Regions from separate parts of the Homo sapiens genome. Here all the other regions are linked to region 3. The links are contacts of gene promoters, found by promoter capture Hi-C in blood cells and fetal thymus (Javierre and others, 2016). All regions are on one chromosome and are shown on one strand. The core of a region is centred on a gene start or on the middle of the fragment in contact, and the rest is flanking DNA. Distances in the headings are between cores, read along the strand shown.

Region 1 (5,036 bases), core at 1,786-4,285, 670 kb after region 3:
AATTGGGACATGTGGAATCAGTGTAGTTTACAAATGTATTTTAAATTACTTGATTATTTGAAATGATTTTCAAAGTTTGCACGATTACTTTGCTTGACAGCGATTTCAAAGGAAAAAAATGTGGGAGATGGTTGCAGGGGAAAATTGATATAAGTGGGGCTGGCCAATGTTATGGTTATTCTTAGTGTCTCAGTCTAAGCCACTAGGATTGCAAGACTTAATATTGAAGGTCAGTGAAGAAAAGGGAGAGTCTAGAAAGTGAGACATGGAAGGTGATTCTAAGTTGGGGTTGGTCAGAGAGGTCTGCTGCAGTTATAGACCAGAAAGGGCAGTCCTGGATAGGTAAGTGTCACAGATAGGGTAGCTGCAATGCTGGCATGAGGATGTGGGATATGCGATTATCAGTGTGTCCCAGGCAGAGACATGGAGGGTGTGAAGCAGCCTTGTTAGGATGACTGCAGGGTGTTTTAATGCCAGAAGACTGGAATGTGGGAGTTGTAAGGAGCCAAGACTGGAAAGGTGAAAGGAAGGCTTGATGATGGACGGAGGACCTGTTATGCCACCCTGAAGAACTTGAATAAAGGTTTTGGAGAGCCAGGAAGGGTTTTAAGCAGCTGCTAAAAATTGTAGTATCTTTAATTACATTCTCCAGAAAACTGAGTATCTTCTCAGTGGTGAGCAATGTAAATGAAGGAATGAGCTGGCCTGGAACAAATTATCATGTATAGTCGCTTGGAAAGGCAAAATGAGAAAGTGGCCCAGGTGGATAAAACTCAGTAGACTTGAAGGGGCAAGAGAACCCAGTTACTCTGGGTGGGAGATGGACATCTAAGAGGAGAAAAACACTTGTTCAGGTTCACAGAGGACCCAGAGATATGGCAGAGGAAACCCTGAAGTAATTATTAATGTAATAATGGAGCTAAGTTGAGCAGTTTTATGTCATAAAGCCTGTTACTCTACCTCCAGTTTTTTCATGGTTTTTAAATTAAAGAAAAATACATTATAAAAATCATCTAAACCCAGATTAGAGTTTAGCTTTTATAGTTCTATCTTATGGTGTCCCTTTTCAATTATTCTTTTCTGATCTTTCTAGTGAACCAAATATTTTGTTGCCATTTATTGGTTGATAGCCAAAGTAGCAACTAAACTGGCCTTCTACTTTAATAACATAAAACTGTGCAGCTTGTTCATTCTTCAACACCACTGTCTTCAAAATATTTGGACAAAGGGTGTTGGTGAGAAGACCTGGCCACTACTCACCAGCTGGGCATTAGAGGTCATAAAAGCTCACAACCTCATTGCTTGCACAAGAGGTGGCCTCTCATGTCTATTTTCCAGAGGAATTCCCTTCTAATAAGGAAGCCAGTTGGTGGTTTGCCTAGTGCCATCTGGAGACCTGGAAGTGTCACAGAAGTTTGTTAGGCCTTTTAGATGTTGACTCTTTGGACTCGTCTACTGAGAGGTGATGACCTTCATGGGGGTGAATGCAGAGAGCTATGGCGTTGGGTTTGACTCCTGGCTTTCAGGCAGAAATGCATGCCATTCAACCCCCTCCCACTCCTTTGCCTATGCGCTGGCCACTTGGCCTTCCTGCCATTTGGTGGCATTTATCCTCTTCAAATTCCTTCCTTCCACCTGCCAGTTTCTAACCAGATCTTGCCCTGTCTGGCTCCATTCTGTATGTTATGTGCCCATTTGATGAAAACAGCATGAGGCAGGGTCAACATTGCATTTCTTTCTAAGAACGAGGACAAAATATGAGTAGCATCCTTCCAATAGTTAACTTTTAGCCCTTTACTTGTGTGAAGGACTTGTTATCCCAGTTGATAGATGAGAAGACAGATGACCATAAGTGCAAGAAATTCAGAGTTTGATGTGAAGCCCAGCTCTGGGCTCCCTGTTGACTATTTTGTCATTGATGTATGTGAAACCATGTGGAAATCCAAAAGGAAAGTTGTCCATTTTTCTGCTTGCAGTTTAAATTGAAAAAAGATTCTACTGGGCATGATGCAAAACATTTCTACACATACACATTTGTGTGTTATAGTTGACAGGGCCATTTTACTTGCATAAAAAGATCTTTGAAAAGCCTCACAGTAATAATACTTTTTATATCTCTAAATCAAAATGGCTCAGTTCTGAGAATTTTTACATTTTAGGTACAAAATAGAAGTGGGTTTCAAATAGCTCTTGATTAGTGTCATTATTTGGGCATATGTTTTTAATTGGCAAAAAAAAAACAGACTTCAGAAATTGGTCATTTTTATTCCATCAAGTTAACGGTGAGTGGCTTATTTAATAAAAACATGTCTGTAATTTAACACAAGTAGCACGTACAGCTGTTCATTTGTGTCTTTTTGACTGTGTGAAGCATCTTAGACGGTTTTACTGAAAGATAGGGTCACCGAGAGGGGAAATCTGTGGACTTAAATCTTTTTTCATTACCTATCGCCGGCCACTAGGTTAGGTTAGTTGCCGCCAGCAAGCGCCCTTCATGGCTCGACTAGGGAATGTGGAGAGAGCTGAGAGAATCGAAATCCTCGATTTTTTTTTCTTTGCTGAGAGGGACCTGAGAGACATTCACTCATCCCTGCAAAGAAGCAGCTGCCCGAATGCACATAGCCAGTTGGTAGTGACATGAATCCGTACACAGGGCTCCTGGTCCAGCGCTCCGAGTTCTAACCACTCTGGCCACGTGTGCATCGGGGAGTTGTAAAGTGAGTTATGGAAATAAAACAAGGCGAGAAGCCCAGTCCCGATCTTCAGGAGCAGCATTCTCGGGAGCCAGAGGCCGAGGTGGCGCCCCGGGCAGGCGCCTTAGGCTGGGTGGGTGCGGAGCTGGCCCCGGCCTTTGGCTCCAGCATCTTCACCTCGCTCGCCTGCCTCCGAAGTTGCGAAGGTGCCGGGAAGAGGAGGGGCCTCGCCTCGGGCGCCCGAGTGATTGGCTGCTTAGGGCCCCGGGCGAAGGCTGTGTGGTCCAGCCCTGGTGGAGAGGGGCGGAGCGGCCACTGCTCCAACCACCGCCGCCACCGCCACACTCGCAGCCGCCGCAGCCTCGGCCGCCGGGCAAGTAGCTCCGAGCGGCTGCTTCCCGGTTGCCTCGACGAAGACAGGGGGCGCCGCGCTCCGCTTGCTCCGCGCCTGAGCCATGCCCAGCAGCCCTGTGTAACCACCGAGTCCCGGCCGGAGCCGACCGACCCAGTGTGCGCCGTCTTTCGGCCGAGCTGAGCTTTCGTGCACGCAACTCCCTCTGCCCCAGCCGGCCCCGCGCCACCATGCCCCGGGCGACTGCACTTGGGGCCCTGGTGTCACTGCTGCTGCTGCTGCCGCTGCCTCGCGGCGCCGGGGGACTCGGGGAGCGCCCGGACGCCACCGCAGACTACTCAGAGCTGGACGGCGAGGAGGGCACGGAGCAGCAGCTGGAGCATTACCACGACCCTTGCAAAGCCGGTAGGTGCCGCCGCTGGGGAAGTCCCGCAGAAGTTTGCCTTTGAAATGCAAATGAGGTGGTGGGCAAGCCTGCACTACCGTCTATGGGGCGGGTCTCCCCTCCCCTCCCCTGAGATCCCCGGCTCCCCCGGAAGACAATGCCTCCGAGGAATTGCTTAAAAACCACTCCGAGGCTGGGATGTCCCGGCCCCAGGTTTGCGGTGCGCACCGGGGGGCGACAGCTGGCGCGTTCCCAAAGCGAATCAGAGCGGGTGCCAGAGGCCGAGAGGGCGCCCAGGGGCCGGGGTGGGTGCCAGGGCCGCCTGACAGCGAGTGGGCAGCACTGGCCACCGCCAGACGCTCCGGGCCGGAGCAGAAGAGCTGGACTGGGCGCGGCGCTCCGAGGCTCAGATGGAGTTCCTGGCTCCGATTTCACAGCATTTTTAAGTTTCGCGCAAAGTTTCCCAAGATCTGTGGTTACTCTTGGGAGATTTTAAAAAGAAAAGCGTCACAGCGGGCAAAAGGAAAGGGGTCGCCGAGGGAGAATGAGCAAGACTCGAATAGCCGGAAACTTCCCTGTAGCGGTACCGGCCTGAGGGTCGCTCTGGGCGGGCGGAGATGGAAGCCGGCAGGTGCTCTAATCCCTCCAGGAAGCGGCGCCCCAGGACGTACGGGCCTTTCGGGCGCAATCGCCGCCCGGGCGCTGCAGCTCCCGCTTCCTCGGGGCCACTGATCGGCTCGTGAGTCCTGAGGGGAGCGGCTTCCGAGCTGGAGTCGTTGAAGCGTTAGCCTCCGAAGGGCCAAGCGCATGTTCCAGCAAGCTGATGAGTGTGGGGCAGTTCCAGCACGGACAGAGGGGTGCTCACGCTCACGCTCCCAGGGAGATGCTGGGCTCAGAGGCTCGCACAGACGCTCCTGGCCCATGGCCAGTGTCCCGCGAGTAGTGGTGTTTATCTCCGGCTTTGTGGGGCCCCGTTTCACTTGGCGGTCGGCAGAGAAGAATGGGGAGGGAAGAGCGCGACCTCCACCCTCGGCGAGGCAGGTGCTCCTTCCCGGGGCTGTGGCCGGCCAGGTCTCTGCGGGGCCTGTGGGCCAGTGGTTGCCCCTTCACGCCCTGGAAACCTCTATCAGTTCCAGGTTACTCATCTCTAAATTGGTGGCAGTAATTATAGGAGGACTCAGGTGATTTGTGGGAAAATTCTCTGCAAGTGAAATGATGGCATTGTCGTTATTTTTTATTGTTTCTATCACTGCAGTGGCTCGGGTCTAGGCTGGGGGTTGGGAGGGTCAGAACTGGGTAAAGTCTGGGGAAGACCAGGTTACTAGGAGGCAGGAGGAGTTTGTGAGACTTGAGAATCTTGTGAAGGTTTGAGATCAAACTAGTCTTGAGGGGCCTGGTCTTAGTAAGGGAAGTTTCCTGCAGAATATCTACCTACTGCTGTATCTCTTGGGGCTTCTGAGTTAGGAAGGTGGGCAGAGGAGTTGGTTCCTGGACAACTGGAGAAAACCTCAGCAGGTAGCATGCCTGGCCCAGGTACCATGAGTTCCTTATGGGACCTAATTCAAGGCCAGGGAGAAGAGGCTCCAGAGCACTATTGGAATGGCAG
Region 2 (4,747 bases), core at 2,140-4,639, 740 kb after region 3:
ATATTTTTCTCCATGCACATACATTGATATATATACAGAGATATATGTATATAAGCATACATCTAAACATAAATACAGATACAGGCTTTGTCATTGTTTTAAAACATAGAATCATATTTGATACACATTTTTTCTGCATCATGCTTTCGTCATCAATACCTCATGGGCACAACCCCTCCAAGGCACTAGTTATAACTTAAATGTATTCTTTTGAGTAGATATTACTGATATGGATGGATCATAATTTATTCAGTGTTTTCCTTATCAATTAGCATTCAGTTCACTTCAAGCTTTTGCCGTGATGAATAATGACTGCAGTAAACGTTACTGAACATATATCCGTACATATTTAGTGTGCTTGTAATAGATGTTGCTAGGTTGTGTTTCAAAAGGTGTAACAATTCACATTTCCATAGCAACTTATAAGTGTACTCCTTTCCCATATTCTTACTAGCAGTAGGGAGAACTCATTATCAGTGTTTTTAACAAGTAAGCTGTGGCTTATTGATATTTAATTTGTACTCCTCTGACTGCTGGTGCCGTTGAACATTTTTTCCTATGTTTGTCAGTGGGAATCGCCTCTTCCTGTCCTGTGCCCATTTTCCTATTGGGTTGCTGATCTTCCTCTTCAATCTGACTTCTTTTAGAGAGAGGCAGATCCTTTAGTCACCCATGTAACTAATCTGCATTTGTTTCTTAGCTATACAGCTTGTTGTTTGGGCTATGTGCAGGGCTTGCTTTCAGATCCGCGTTTTTCTGCTTTGCTTATTTAAGGATATTTTGACTTATAAGTTTTTGGGCTCCCCAGACATCTGGTACTCAATGGTCCTTCACTTTGCCACAAATGATCAGCACTTAGTGGTAAAAATGGAGCATGTGTGAATGAATCCAGCAGAGTTTGTCATCACACTGCAGTGACAAAGATGCCACACTCATTTTTCTTCCTTATTTATGTGATTTATTGTTGCATAAAGACCACACCCAAACTTAGTGACTTCAAACAATAGTTTGTTATTTTCATGATTCTGGGGGTTGACTGGGTTCAGTAGGGTGGTTCTTTGGCTGATGCCATCTGGGGTCACTCACTTGACTGAATTTATCTAGCAGGTGGACTGGGCTGGAAGGTCCAAAAAAACTTTAGCTACACCTCCAGTGCCCCAGTGTGCCTCCTTGTGGCCCTGCTCTCCATGCAGACTGTCACCATTCAGTTGTCTAATCAGAAACTTTTCATAGCATGGTGATTGGCTTCCCAGAGGGAAGGAACAGAAGTTGCCAGTCCATTTAAGGCCTGGACTCAAAACTTCAAGAATGCTACTTCTGCTACGTTCTGTTAACAAAATAAGCCAAACGACCAGACCAGATTCAAGGAGAGAGAAATAGATTCTACTCCTTCACGAGAGAAGTGGCATGACCTCACAGGGATAAGGGGACTTGGCGGCCATATTTGGAGACTATCTACCACCTTCCCCCCTTGCCTCTGCTCCCCAGCAATAGATATTGTCAGAGTTTTTGATATTTACTAGTTCGTTGGGTGTAAAATGACCCAACTATAAACTTGGACAGTCAGACACACTTGGGTTTGAATCCCAGCTCACCCACTTAGTAGCTATGACTTTGGATAAGTTATTTAACTGCTTGTATGAGGTTTAGAGGGAATTAGAAATAATATTTATGTAAAGCACATAGCCAGGTGTCTGGAACTTAAAAGAGGCTCAAGGAATGTAGCTCTTCCACCTCCACCTCCAGGAATTATATTATCCAGCATTGAAAGTGCATCATCTACCTCTGGACTGGGATTCCACAGCTGTGCAACAGCTGCATAGAAACACAATTACAGAGGACAGGAAGGAAGACGGCGGCTGTGGCCCATTAAAATTCTGCCTCTGGTGGGGTTGTGCACAGCACCCACACTGCAACAAAAAATCTTGGGCTTTTCAGGGAGGGTGATGATAGCAGTGCCCTAGTCTGCAGTTCCCCCAAATGGCCCTGGTTTGTTCGAAGCGGATAAGGAATGTGCAGGCTAGGCCAGTCCCTTCACTCTGCATTACAGCAGCAGACAAGCATGTCTTTAAGCATCCAGGGCAGTCCTGAAGAGGAAGGAAATCTCGAAGTGAGGTGAGGGCAGGCCGTTCTAACCAGTCCCTCCATCCTTCCCATCCCAACCCTCAGGATGCTGTCGGCGCCAGCGCTGGATGCCTCTTGCTTTTATTTGAATGAAAGATAAGACACGTTGTGTCAATCTCAGGTTCCCTTTAATCACAACTTGCCCCCCTTCCACCACCCCCAGGAAAAGAGACCGCCCAGGCAGGAGAAAGGATCTGAGGGAAGCGCCCAGTTTCGGCAGCAGGTTTATTTCCTGGCATTATGTGGCTCCCCTCAGCCCTGACGGTGGGGATTTGTGCCTCCAGCTTTGGGGAGGGGGAAAGGGCTGAAATGCTCACTCAACATCCCCTCCGGCAGACCCTTTGGTCAGAAGGCTCTCCCTCCTCTGGAGATGAGAGCTCAGCATGCATTTCAGGGCTGATAATGGGATTAATGAAATGGAGTGTGCAACTGCTCCATGAATGAAGCTGTGACTGTTTTGATAGAGCCTGATTTCCAGAACCATATTCATGAAAGAGAATGGACCTTTCACTTTCAGTAACATTTCCTAGGGGCTTTGTGTGAAAGCAAATAATAATGGAATCTGGTTGAACCAGAGGACAGGCATCCCACAAACTTGGGTGCAAAACAGCACTCGACGCTGGAATTCCTAACATCACTTACGTCAGTTTACTTGGGTGTAACAACTGAGCCCCACGAACTTCAGGCCTTCCTTTTTAGCCTGTCTCAAATGCAGACTTTCGTAGCCATTGTGGCAGCTCACACTGAGCCCTTACTCACCGCAGGCATTTGACATTCATTACCTGGGTCACCACCGCCCTGCAGCAGGAAGTGAGGCTCCGAAGGGGAAGTGATTTGTCCAAAGCCATGTAGGTAGCAAATGGCAGCATTTATCTTGAGCTTAAGTCCCCCTGACCCCAAACCCCTTGATCTTAACCTTTGGGCTGTATCAGTGGTTCCCAAACTTCACTGAGCTTTGTAATCACCTGGGGAGCTTTAGAAACTGCAGGTGCCTTGACTCCACTCTAAGGCCAATTGATTCTCAGTCTCAGAGCAGGGAGGCAGACACCAGAATTTTTTAAAAGCTCCCCAGTTGAATCTAATGTGCAGCCAGGTTTGAGAACCACTGTGCAGAATGGTCTAGTCTCCCCTTTACTTAGCGGCCTTCAGCCTTTCGAGATTGCTGCAGGTGAGGTGCAAATTCACCCATCACCTTTGGGGTGAGGGTTATGCAGATGGCTGGGCTGTCAGCGTGTTTACTTCCCGTGTGGGAATGACCAATTGCCTAATCTAAAAATTGCACTTCCTCACTGGAGAAGGCTGCCTCAGGCCTGGTTCTGTTTATGACATGGCTGTGCCTTCAGCTGGAAATAGAAGATTGAAAAGCAACAACCGCTTTGCTCTTTCAGAGAGGACAGGGCTCGCTCCCAGAGCCAGAGAATTTAAATGGGCTTTATCCCCCCTCAACCCTACCCCCAGCGTGTTAAATCCTGTCAGACGCCCTGAGCTCCTCTTCAAATGCAGGACTCTTGGCCATAATAAATAATTACATCCTTCTATTTGGACTCCGATTCCAGATAGTAGTAATCCAAGAAAATCCAATAATGACAGTTGCATTAAGATCCTTCTTCCAGGCTAAGCAGAACATCTGTTTAGACATATTTTTAATCGGCAAATGCTTCCTGTGTTGAGTCCTTAGCAAATTAAATTTCTCACTGGACCAAAGGGGAAGCTGTCATTCAATAACCCATTTCTGGAAATTACACCCTAGCTTCTTTCCAGGTGCACTTAAGATTTTCCCATGCTGACTTGGCTGCATAAAACAGACCCTTATAATACCAGGTCACATGTATATGCAGCACAGCTTGTCAGAGAAACACGGAGTATCTTAGTGTTATTTCTTTGAATAGAGAAGTATTTTTGCCCATTCTCCAAAGGAGAGTTGGCGACAGAGGAAAATTAAGAGACTTGTTGAAAACCATATGGGAAATGAGTAACAAACTTCCACTTGCTACATTGCTGCCTGTGATTACTTAAGACTGGATAATTCTCAGGATGTAAACATTAAGGGCTTCAGTGTTGCCAACATTTTGGAGAGGTTTCCAACACAGAGTTGTTTGGACTGTTGGGCTGTTTATTTTTAGAATAGCTCATCCCTTCTTTAATTCATACATTCAAAATATAAAAATATTGAATGCTCACCACCAGTCAGGCACCATGCAGGGTGTGGAGAATAAAGTGGAGAACAAGCTGGCAACATTTCTTGCCCTCATGGAGCTTCCAGTCTACCAGAAAAATTCACATTTGACATCTTGATGCAATTTGTAGTTTAGGGCTGGAATAGCAAATTAGAATATCTTCCGTAGAGGGCAGGTAGGTCATCTAAAAGGTGAAGTAAGCTGAATAGGACAATGTGAAGGGGGAGAGAGATTCTAGCAAACAGAACATGTGCTCTGACTATGGAGAGCAGGTGCTTCTAAACTCCAGCTGGTTGTACTATGATGGAAGATGGGCCTGCTGTTGCCAAATCTTTCAGTTTTTAAAGAAAAACTAGAAAATCTGGATTCTTATGTGAAATCCCTTGATTTTTAAAAGTTGGCTCGTACAGGGAGATTTTTAAAAAAACATAGTGTGGGCCAAAAGT
Region 3 (5,024 bases), core at 177-2,676:
AGACTGCAAAATTCTCATCAACATGGAAAAGAAAAGCAAAGAAAACGCCTGAGCCTTGGGTACCTGGTGGGTGATAAGGCTTCAACCTTGTGGAGTCTATCAACCTCCCCTATCCCCACCCTGCCCGACACTCTCCCCACCAAATGCGTCCATGCTGTGTCTGGACCCAGGCCGCTCCTGAGACGGGAGGTGCTTCTCGGGCTACCCAGCTGTGTCCTCTTGCCAAGCAGCCTCACGTCAAGGCCCCGACTGCTGGACACTGCCCCAGCGAGCCACAGCTGTCCTTGGCGTTGAGGAGATCTTTCGTCTTTTCTGGGGTTGAGGAGAATTCTCTCCCCACCTGGATGTCCCGTTCACACCCACGTCCACACATGCCTTACGGTGACGAAGGTCCCTACCCAGCCGGGTGTGAGGCCTGGGTCTGACGGGGCTGGCCTGTGGGGTTCTCTCCCAAGCAGGCCGCCCAGCGCTATGCCAGCCCTCTCTGTCTCCTTTGATGTCAAGATGGAATATTCATTTTCATCTGTTTCCACCTGTCAGAAATGGAGGAACGCTGGTGTGAGTGGAGGAAGACGTTTGCCAGATTTCCAAGTCCCCTTAATGTCTGTCCCTCTCTTCTACAACGGGGGAAGAAGCCCGTGTAACTGTATGGTACAAATACGCCCTGCTGAGCAAGTGTTCCAATCAGAGCCATTCTCATCCTGGGCATGCGGCTAGCTTGTTCCCCTCTGAGAAGTGGGTGCATTGAGGTAGGAAGGAGACTGTACTCCGCCTAGCGCTTTCGTGGACCCTCCCCCCCGACAAAGCTCCATCCTCAAAGTCCAGGCTAAGTAAGGTTGGTGGCTTGAGGATGCTACCTGGGGCACAGGCACAGGGTTTCCCTTAACCAAGAATTGACACAGCGAGTCGGGTGGGGCCGAGAGGCCGCTGCTGCCGTCGGGGGATGGGGGGAAACGGGTCTGACTCCCCGGGAAGGCGTCCAAGCGGCAAAATAAGATCTCCCTCCCACCCTGGACTAGCAGCTGGGGCCGCGGGTGCCGGGGTGCGTGCGTCTAAATGTGCGCATCCTCGCCGTGTGTGTGTGTGTGTGTGTGTGTGTGTGTGTGTGTGTGTGTGTACAGCCAGGACTTGGCGGGTCGAGTCACACCCCCTTCCCTCTTCTCCCATCCCCCGCAGCCCCGTGCCCGCTGACGGCGCCTCGGAGGTTCCACCTTTGAAACTGTAGGCGGCTTGCAGCCGCTGAGTGGTCGTCGGGAGAGGGGGGCTGCGGCGGGGGAGGGCGGGGAGGAGCCTGGCCCTGGATGTGTGCTTTTCGATTGATGGATGACTGCCGGGTGGGAGCGAGCGCGCGGGTGTGTGTGTGATCGTGTGTGTGTGTGTGGTGTGTGCGCAGGGTGCGTGCGCGCGCGGGGCCTGCCCATTTTCCTCCTCGCAGCAGTCAGTTGGGAGCTGGAGGGAGGGAGAGGGAGACGCAGGCGGCGAAACGGCAGAGGAGCCGAGCCCCCTCCGCCCAAGGCGCCCTCCCTCCGTCCGCGCACAGGCGCCGTCGCTTGGAGGAGCAAGGTGCCTCCCAGCCCGCAGGGGCGCCGCGCGCAAGCCCGCGGGCTCTTCGGTGGCTCTGCCCCGGGACTGCACCTGGAGGCGGCCCCGGACGGGGATGGTCAGCGGCTGCTGCCGTCTGGCTCGCGAGCGGGACGCTGTGAGGGCACCATGGCGCTGACTCCCGGGTGGGGGTCCTCGGCGGGGCCGGTCCGGCCGGAGCTCTGGCTGCTGCTGTGGGCAGCCGCGTGGCGCCTGGGTGCCTCGGCGTGCCCCGCCCTCTGCACCTGCACCGGAACCACGGTGGACTGCCACGGCACGGGGCTGCAGGCCATTCCCAAGAATATACCTCGGAACACCGAGCGCCTGTGAGTATGGTCCCCGCCCCTGGCTCCCTGGCTCCGAGGTTGCCCTCCCACCCAGACGCAATTCCGGACTTGGGGGTGGGGGCAGGACCATTGGGGCCCGTCCGGGCTCCGCAGCCCACAGACGGGTCAGTGCCTGCCGGGGTCTTTCCCGAGCCAGGAGCCAGGAGCGCCGTGGTTTCCCCATCCCTGGGATTCAAAGGGCCCTCGGCGGGGTTGTCAGCTTCCGTCCTCACACCTGCACCCTGCACCCTGCACTCCGCACCCTCAGGCCCTCCTCACTGCGCCAGCGCTTTATTCCTCCAGGGTGCCTGCGAACTGGTGTCAGAAAGCCTTCCTTGCACCCAGGAGGGACACTTCCCACACTCGCCAAGCACAATGTCTCCTTTTGGGCACATGGGGCTACGGCCGCGTTCTGAGCCAGCTGCGCAGATTCCCGCTCCCAGAGCTTGCTCCTGACGAAGGGCAGCAGGGTGGGATGGAGGCGAAGTTTCTGGTCTGCCCCTTCTTCTCCATTGTTTGCCCCAGAGCCTTGAGAATTCTTCCCCTGCAGGTGCCACGCGTTGGTCCCCTACTCACCCGCCTCCCTCCACACCCAGCCATCCCCAACACAGGCAGACAATGGGACCTGAGGGCTTTGGGTATGGGGCTTGGGGTATGTAACATTCAGCACCCGAAAAGGGGCAGGTGTGTCTTGGATGGAGAACCCGGTGGATAATGCCAAGAAGTCAGGAGCTTGGAGAGGGGGGCCCAAGGTTAAAGATATTGACCATGACAAGTAATAAAAAAATAGCATTTCTCTTCCCCTGTTCTGTCTCACTTGTGAATTCTTGAGGAAACTTGATCCTTTTCTTTTCTAGACCCAGTAAGCTAGTAGAATGTGTGTGTGTGTGTTTGGGTGTGTTTGAGTGTGTGTATTTACAGACCTTTATACTTTGTTTTCTGTGACTCTCCTGCAGAATGTGTTTCTGTGTGAATTCCTAGTATTAAGGGGCCACCTTAATAGCGTGAGGCCATGAGAGTCCCCGTAATGGGCTGTGTGTGTGTAGATTTTGGTCACATGCAGGGCCTTTGTACTGCTCGCAGAGGTGACTACACCAGGAGATTTTTGAACAGGGCTTTGGAGAAGGCTGCTGGCTCCTTTGAAACCTACCTACTCCTCCTTCCCACACTCCTCGGTGACTGCAGTGGCTCTCAGGAAAGGTGTGCATATTTTGATAACTTTCGAGCACATTTTCATGGCCCCCAGCTGGTCAGAGACAGAAATCTGACCCTGAGGAGAGCTGTCTCCCGAATCAGACTCTGTACCAAGGCCAGCAATTAGTGAGCACACATTTGCCCCAGACTCTTCTTGGCTGCATCTGAAAAATTCCCGTGGAGGTTTTAGAGAATTTGCAATCTAGATGCAATCTAGATGGGAAGTGTGTGTGTGTGTGTGTGTGTGTGTGTGTGTGTGTGTGTGGTGCATGTGTATGTGTGTGTGTGAATGCTTGTGTGTTACAGGGCTGGGGAGAGGTGGTACCAAACTGAGTTTCTGTGGGCAGCGTGTGCATTATCCTGTGTGGACCCAGAGAGGATCTGAGGGTCAGAAATCTGTCCAGAGGACCCCCGCAGTGGCCTGGTCACCCTCCATGCCTGTCCCCTCTGTACCTGCTCCCTGCTCCCCTTGCCTTGTCCACTGGAGTTTCTCCTGAAGCTGCTACCCTGGTTGCAGCCTAGATCTAAGACACATTAGCCCTTCTTCTTTGCTTTTGAATCTTGAGTCTTAAAGTCATCTCCTCCCTCTTTACTCTCTCACCACCTTTAGTGTTTAAGACTTCCATGAACTCTTTAGCTCTTTTGTGATCAGAGTGAGATGAAAATGAAATTTCCTAGTACAGAGGAAAGAGGTGGCATTCTGGGAGCTATACTGCCTGGTTCCCCAGCTCTGTCACCTATTAGCTGTGTGACCTTGGGCAAGTTACTTAACTTCTCTGAACCTTAGTTGCTTTCCATCAGGAAAATGGGGCTGAGGCTACATAAGGTCTCTGGTTCTTGTGAGGATGGAAGATCATGTATGGGAATTGCCTGGTACCTTCTGATGCTCGCTAAACGAGAGCCATTATTATGATAGGATAGGGAGGGGAATCTCATTATTTTAATTCAGCAAATGTTTCGGAGCCAGGAACTGCCCTGGGTGCTGAGGCGTCAGCAGGGAGTGAGCCCATCCCTGTCCTCAAGGGGCACATGGTCTAGAGAACTGGGCAGAGGACCTCTAATGGTGAGCTCTCAGGAGAGGGCCAGGCAGCCTCAGGGAACGGACTGTGGGAACACTGGGGTGAGAAGCCCTTTTCCAGGGTGAAGGGGTTTCTCAGAGGATGGGCCACTTTATCAAGGTTGGTTTGGATTTTGCCAAGCACAGAGGGCAGGCAATCTAGGCAGAGGGAACAGCTGGGCTCCAGGCCCAGCACATTCTGCTGCTTGTCAGGTCATGGGGCCTGCTTTCTTGCAGACGTCTTTTTTTTTTTTTCCTTTTTTGTAGAGATGAGGATCTGGCTATATTGCCCAGGCTGGTCTCAAACTTCTGGGCTCAAGCAATCCTCCTGCCTCCGCCTCCCAAAGTGTTGGGATTACAGGCGTGAGCATAAGCAAAAAGCCAGCAGGTGTGAGTATGAGCCAAAAACCTGCGGGTGTAAGCATGCCTGGCCCGATATGGGCAGATGGACCAGCTTGTCCCTGGGGCTGAAACATGCTCTGGCCAGTGGCCAGTGGGTGGGATGGGACTTGAGGCTGGAAAGAGATGTTGGGAAGGGTCAGGAAGACTTTCTATATGTGAACTTTTCCTCTGGGAACTTCCTAGTTGGAAGCCAGGGGTGAGTTATCCTGGGGAAGTGGAGCAGGTCTGATCTTTGCCATGTGGGCAAAGCTTCCTGGACTGGGAAAGCGCAGGGAGCCCGCCTGTTCTCCAGGCAGCCCGTGAAAGAGCTGCTCAAAGAGGAAAAGAACATCTTGAAAGAGGCCTTGGTGAGAGCCCAGGCAGACTCAAAATAACTGTGGCAAATGCTCTCTCTAATCAATATGAGTGTTGTGCAGTATCAGAGCCTGAAACAGTGGCTTCTTCTGAGGCTGTGAAATTTTTAT

Evidence for each region. Contacts are between HindIII fragments. The CHiCAGO score rates a contact against its expected background, and 5 or more counts as called.
Region 1: a contact is called between the fragment with the promoter of TLL2 here and the fragment with the promoter of SLIT1 in region 3, in 1 of 17 cell types (naive CD8 T cells). The highest score is 5.2, in naive CD8 T cells.
Region 2: a fragment that was not itself captured here is called in contact with the fragment with the promoter of SLIT1 in region 3 in 2 of 17 cell types (naive B cells and total B cells); the score reaches 5.9 in naive B cells.

Annotation. Positions count from the first base shown.
Region 1 is chr10:96,511,925-96,516,960 of GRCh38, reverse strand. TLL2 (tolloid like 2) reads left to right here and starts at 3,035. Exons shown (of 21, transcript NM_012465.4): 1 at 3,035-3,450. The coding sequence starts at 3,276. RefSeq lists enhancers at 3,185-3,254, 4,444-4,963. The HindIII fragment of the contact is 13,060 bases long and covers 1-5,036 here.
Region 2 is chr10:96,439,858-96,444,604 of GRCh38, reverse strand. The region is part of intron 3 of TLL2 (tolloid like 2); the gene reads left to right. Among named protein-coding and RNA genes, the nearest start is that of TLL2, 72 kb to the left of the region's middle. RefSeq lists an enhancer at 1,821-2,459. The HindIII fragment of the contact is 6,194 bases long and covers 293-4,747 here.
Region 3 is chr10:97,182,361-97,187,384 of GRCh38, reverse strand. SLIT1 (slit guidance ligand 1) reads left to right here and starts at 1,426. Exons shown (of 37, transcript NM_003061.3): 1 at 1,426-1,907. The coding sequence starts at 1,711. The region is part of intron 11 of ARHGAP19-SLIT1 (ARHGAP19-SLIT1 readthrough (NMD candidate)); the gene reads left to right. RefSeq lists enhancers at 581-1,081, 1,082-1,582. The HindIII fragment of the contact is 4,998 bases long and covers 1-4,811 here.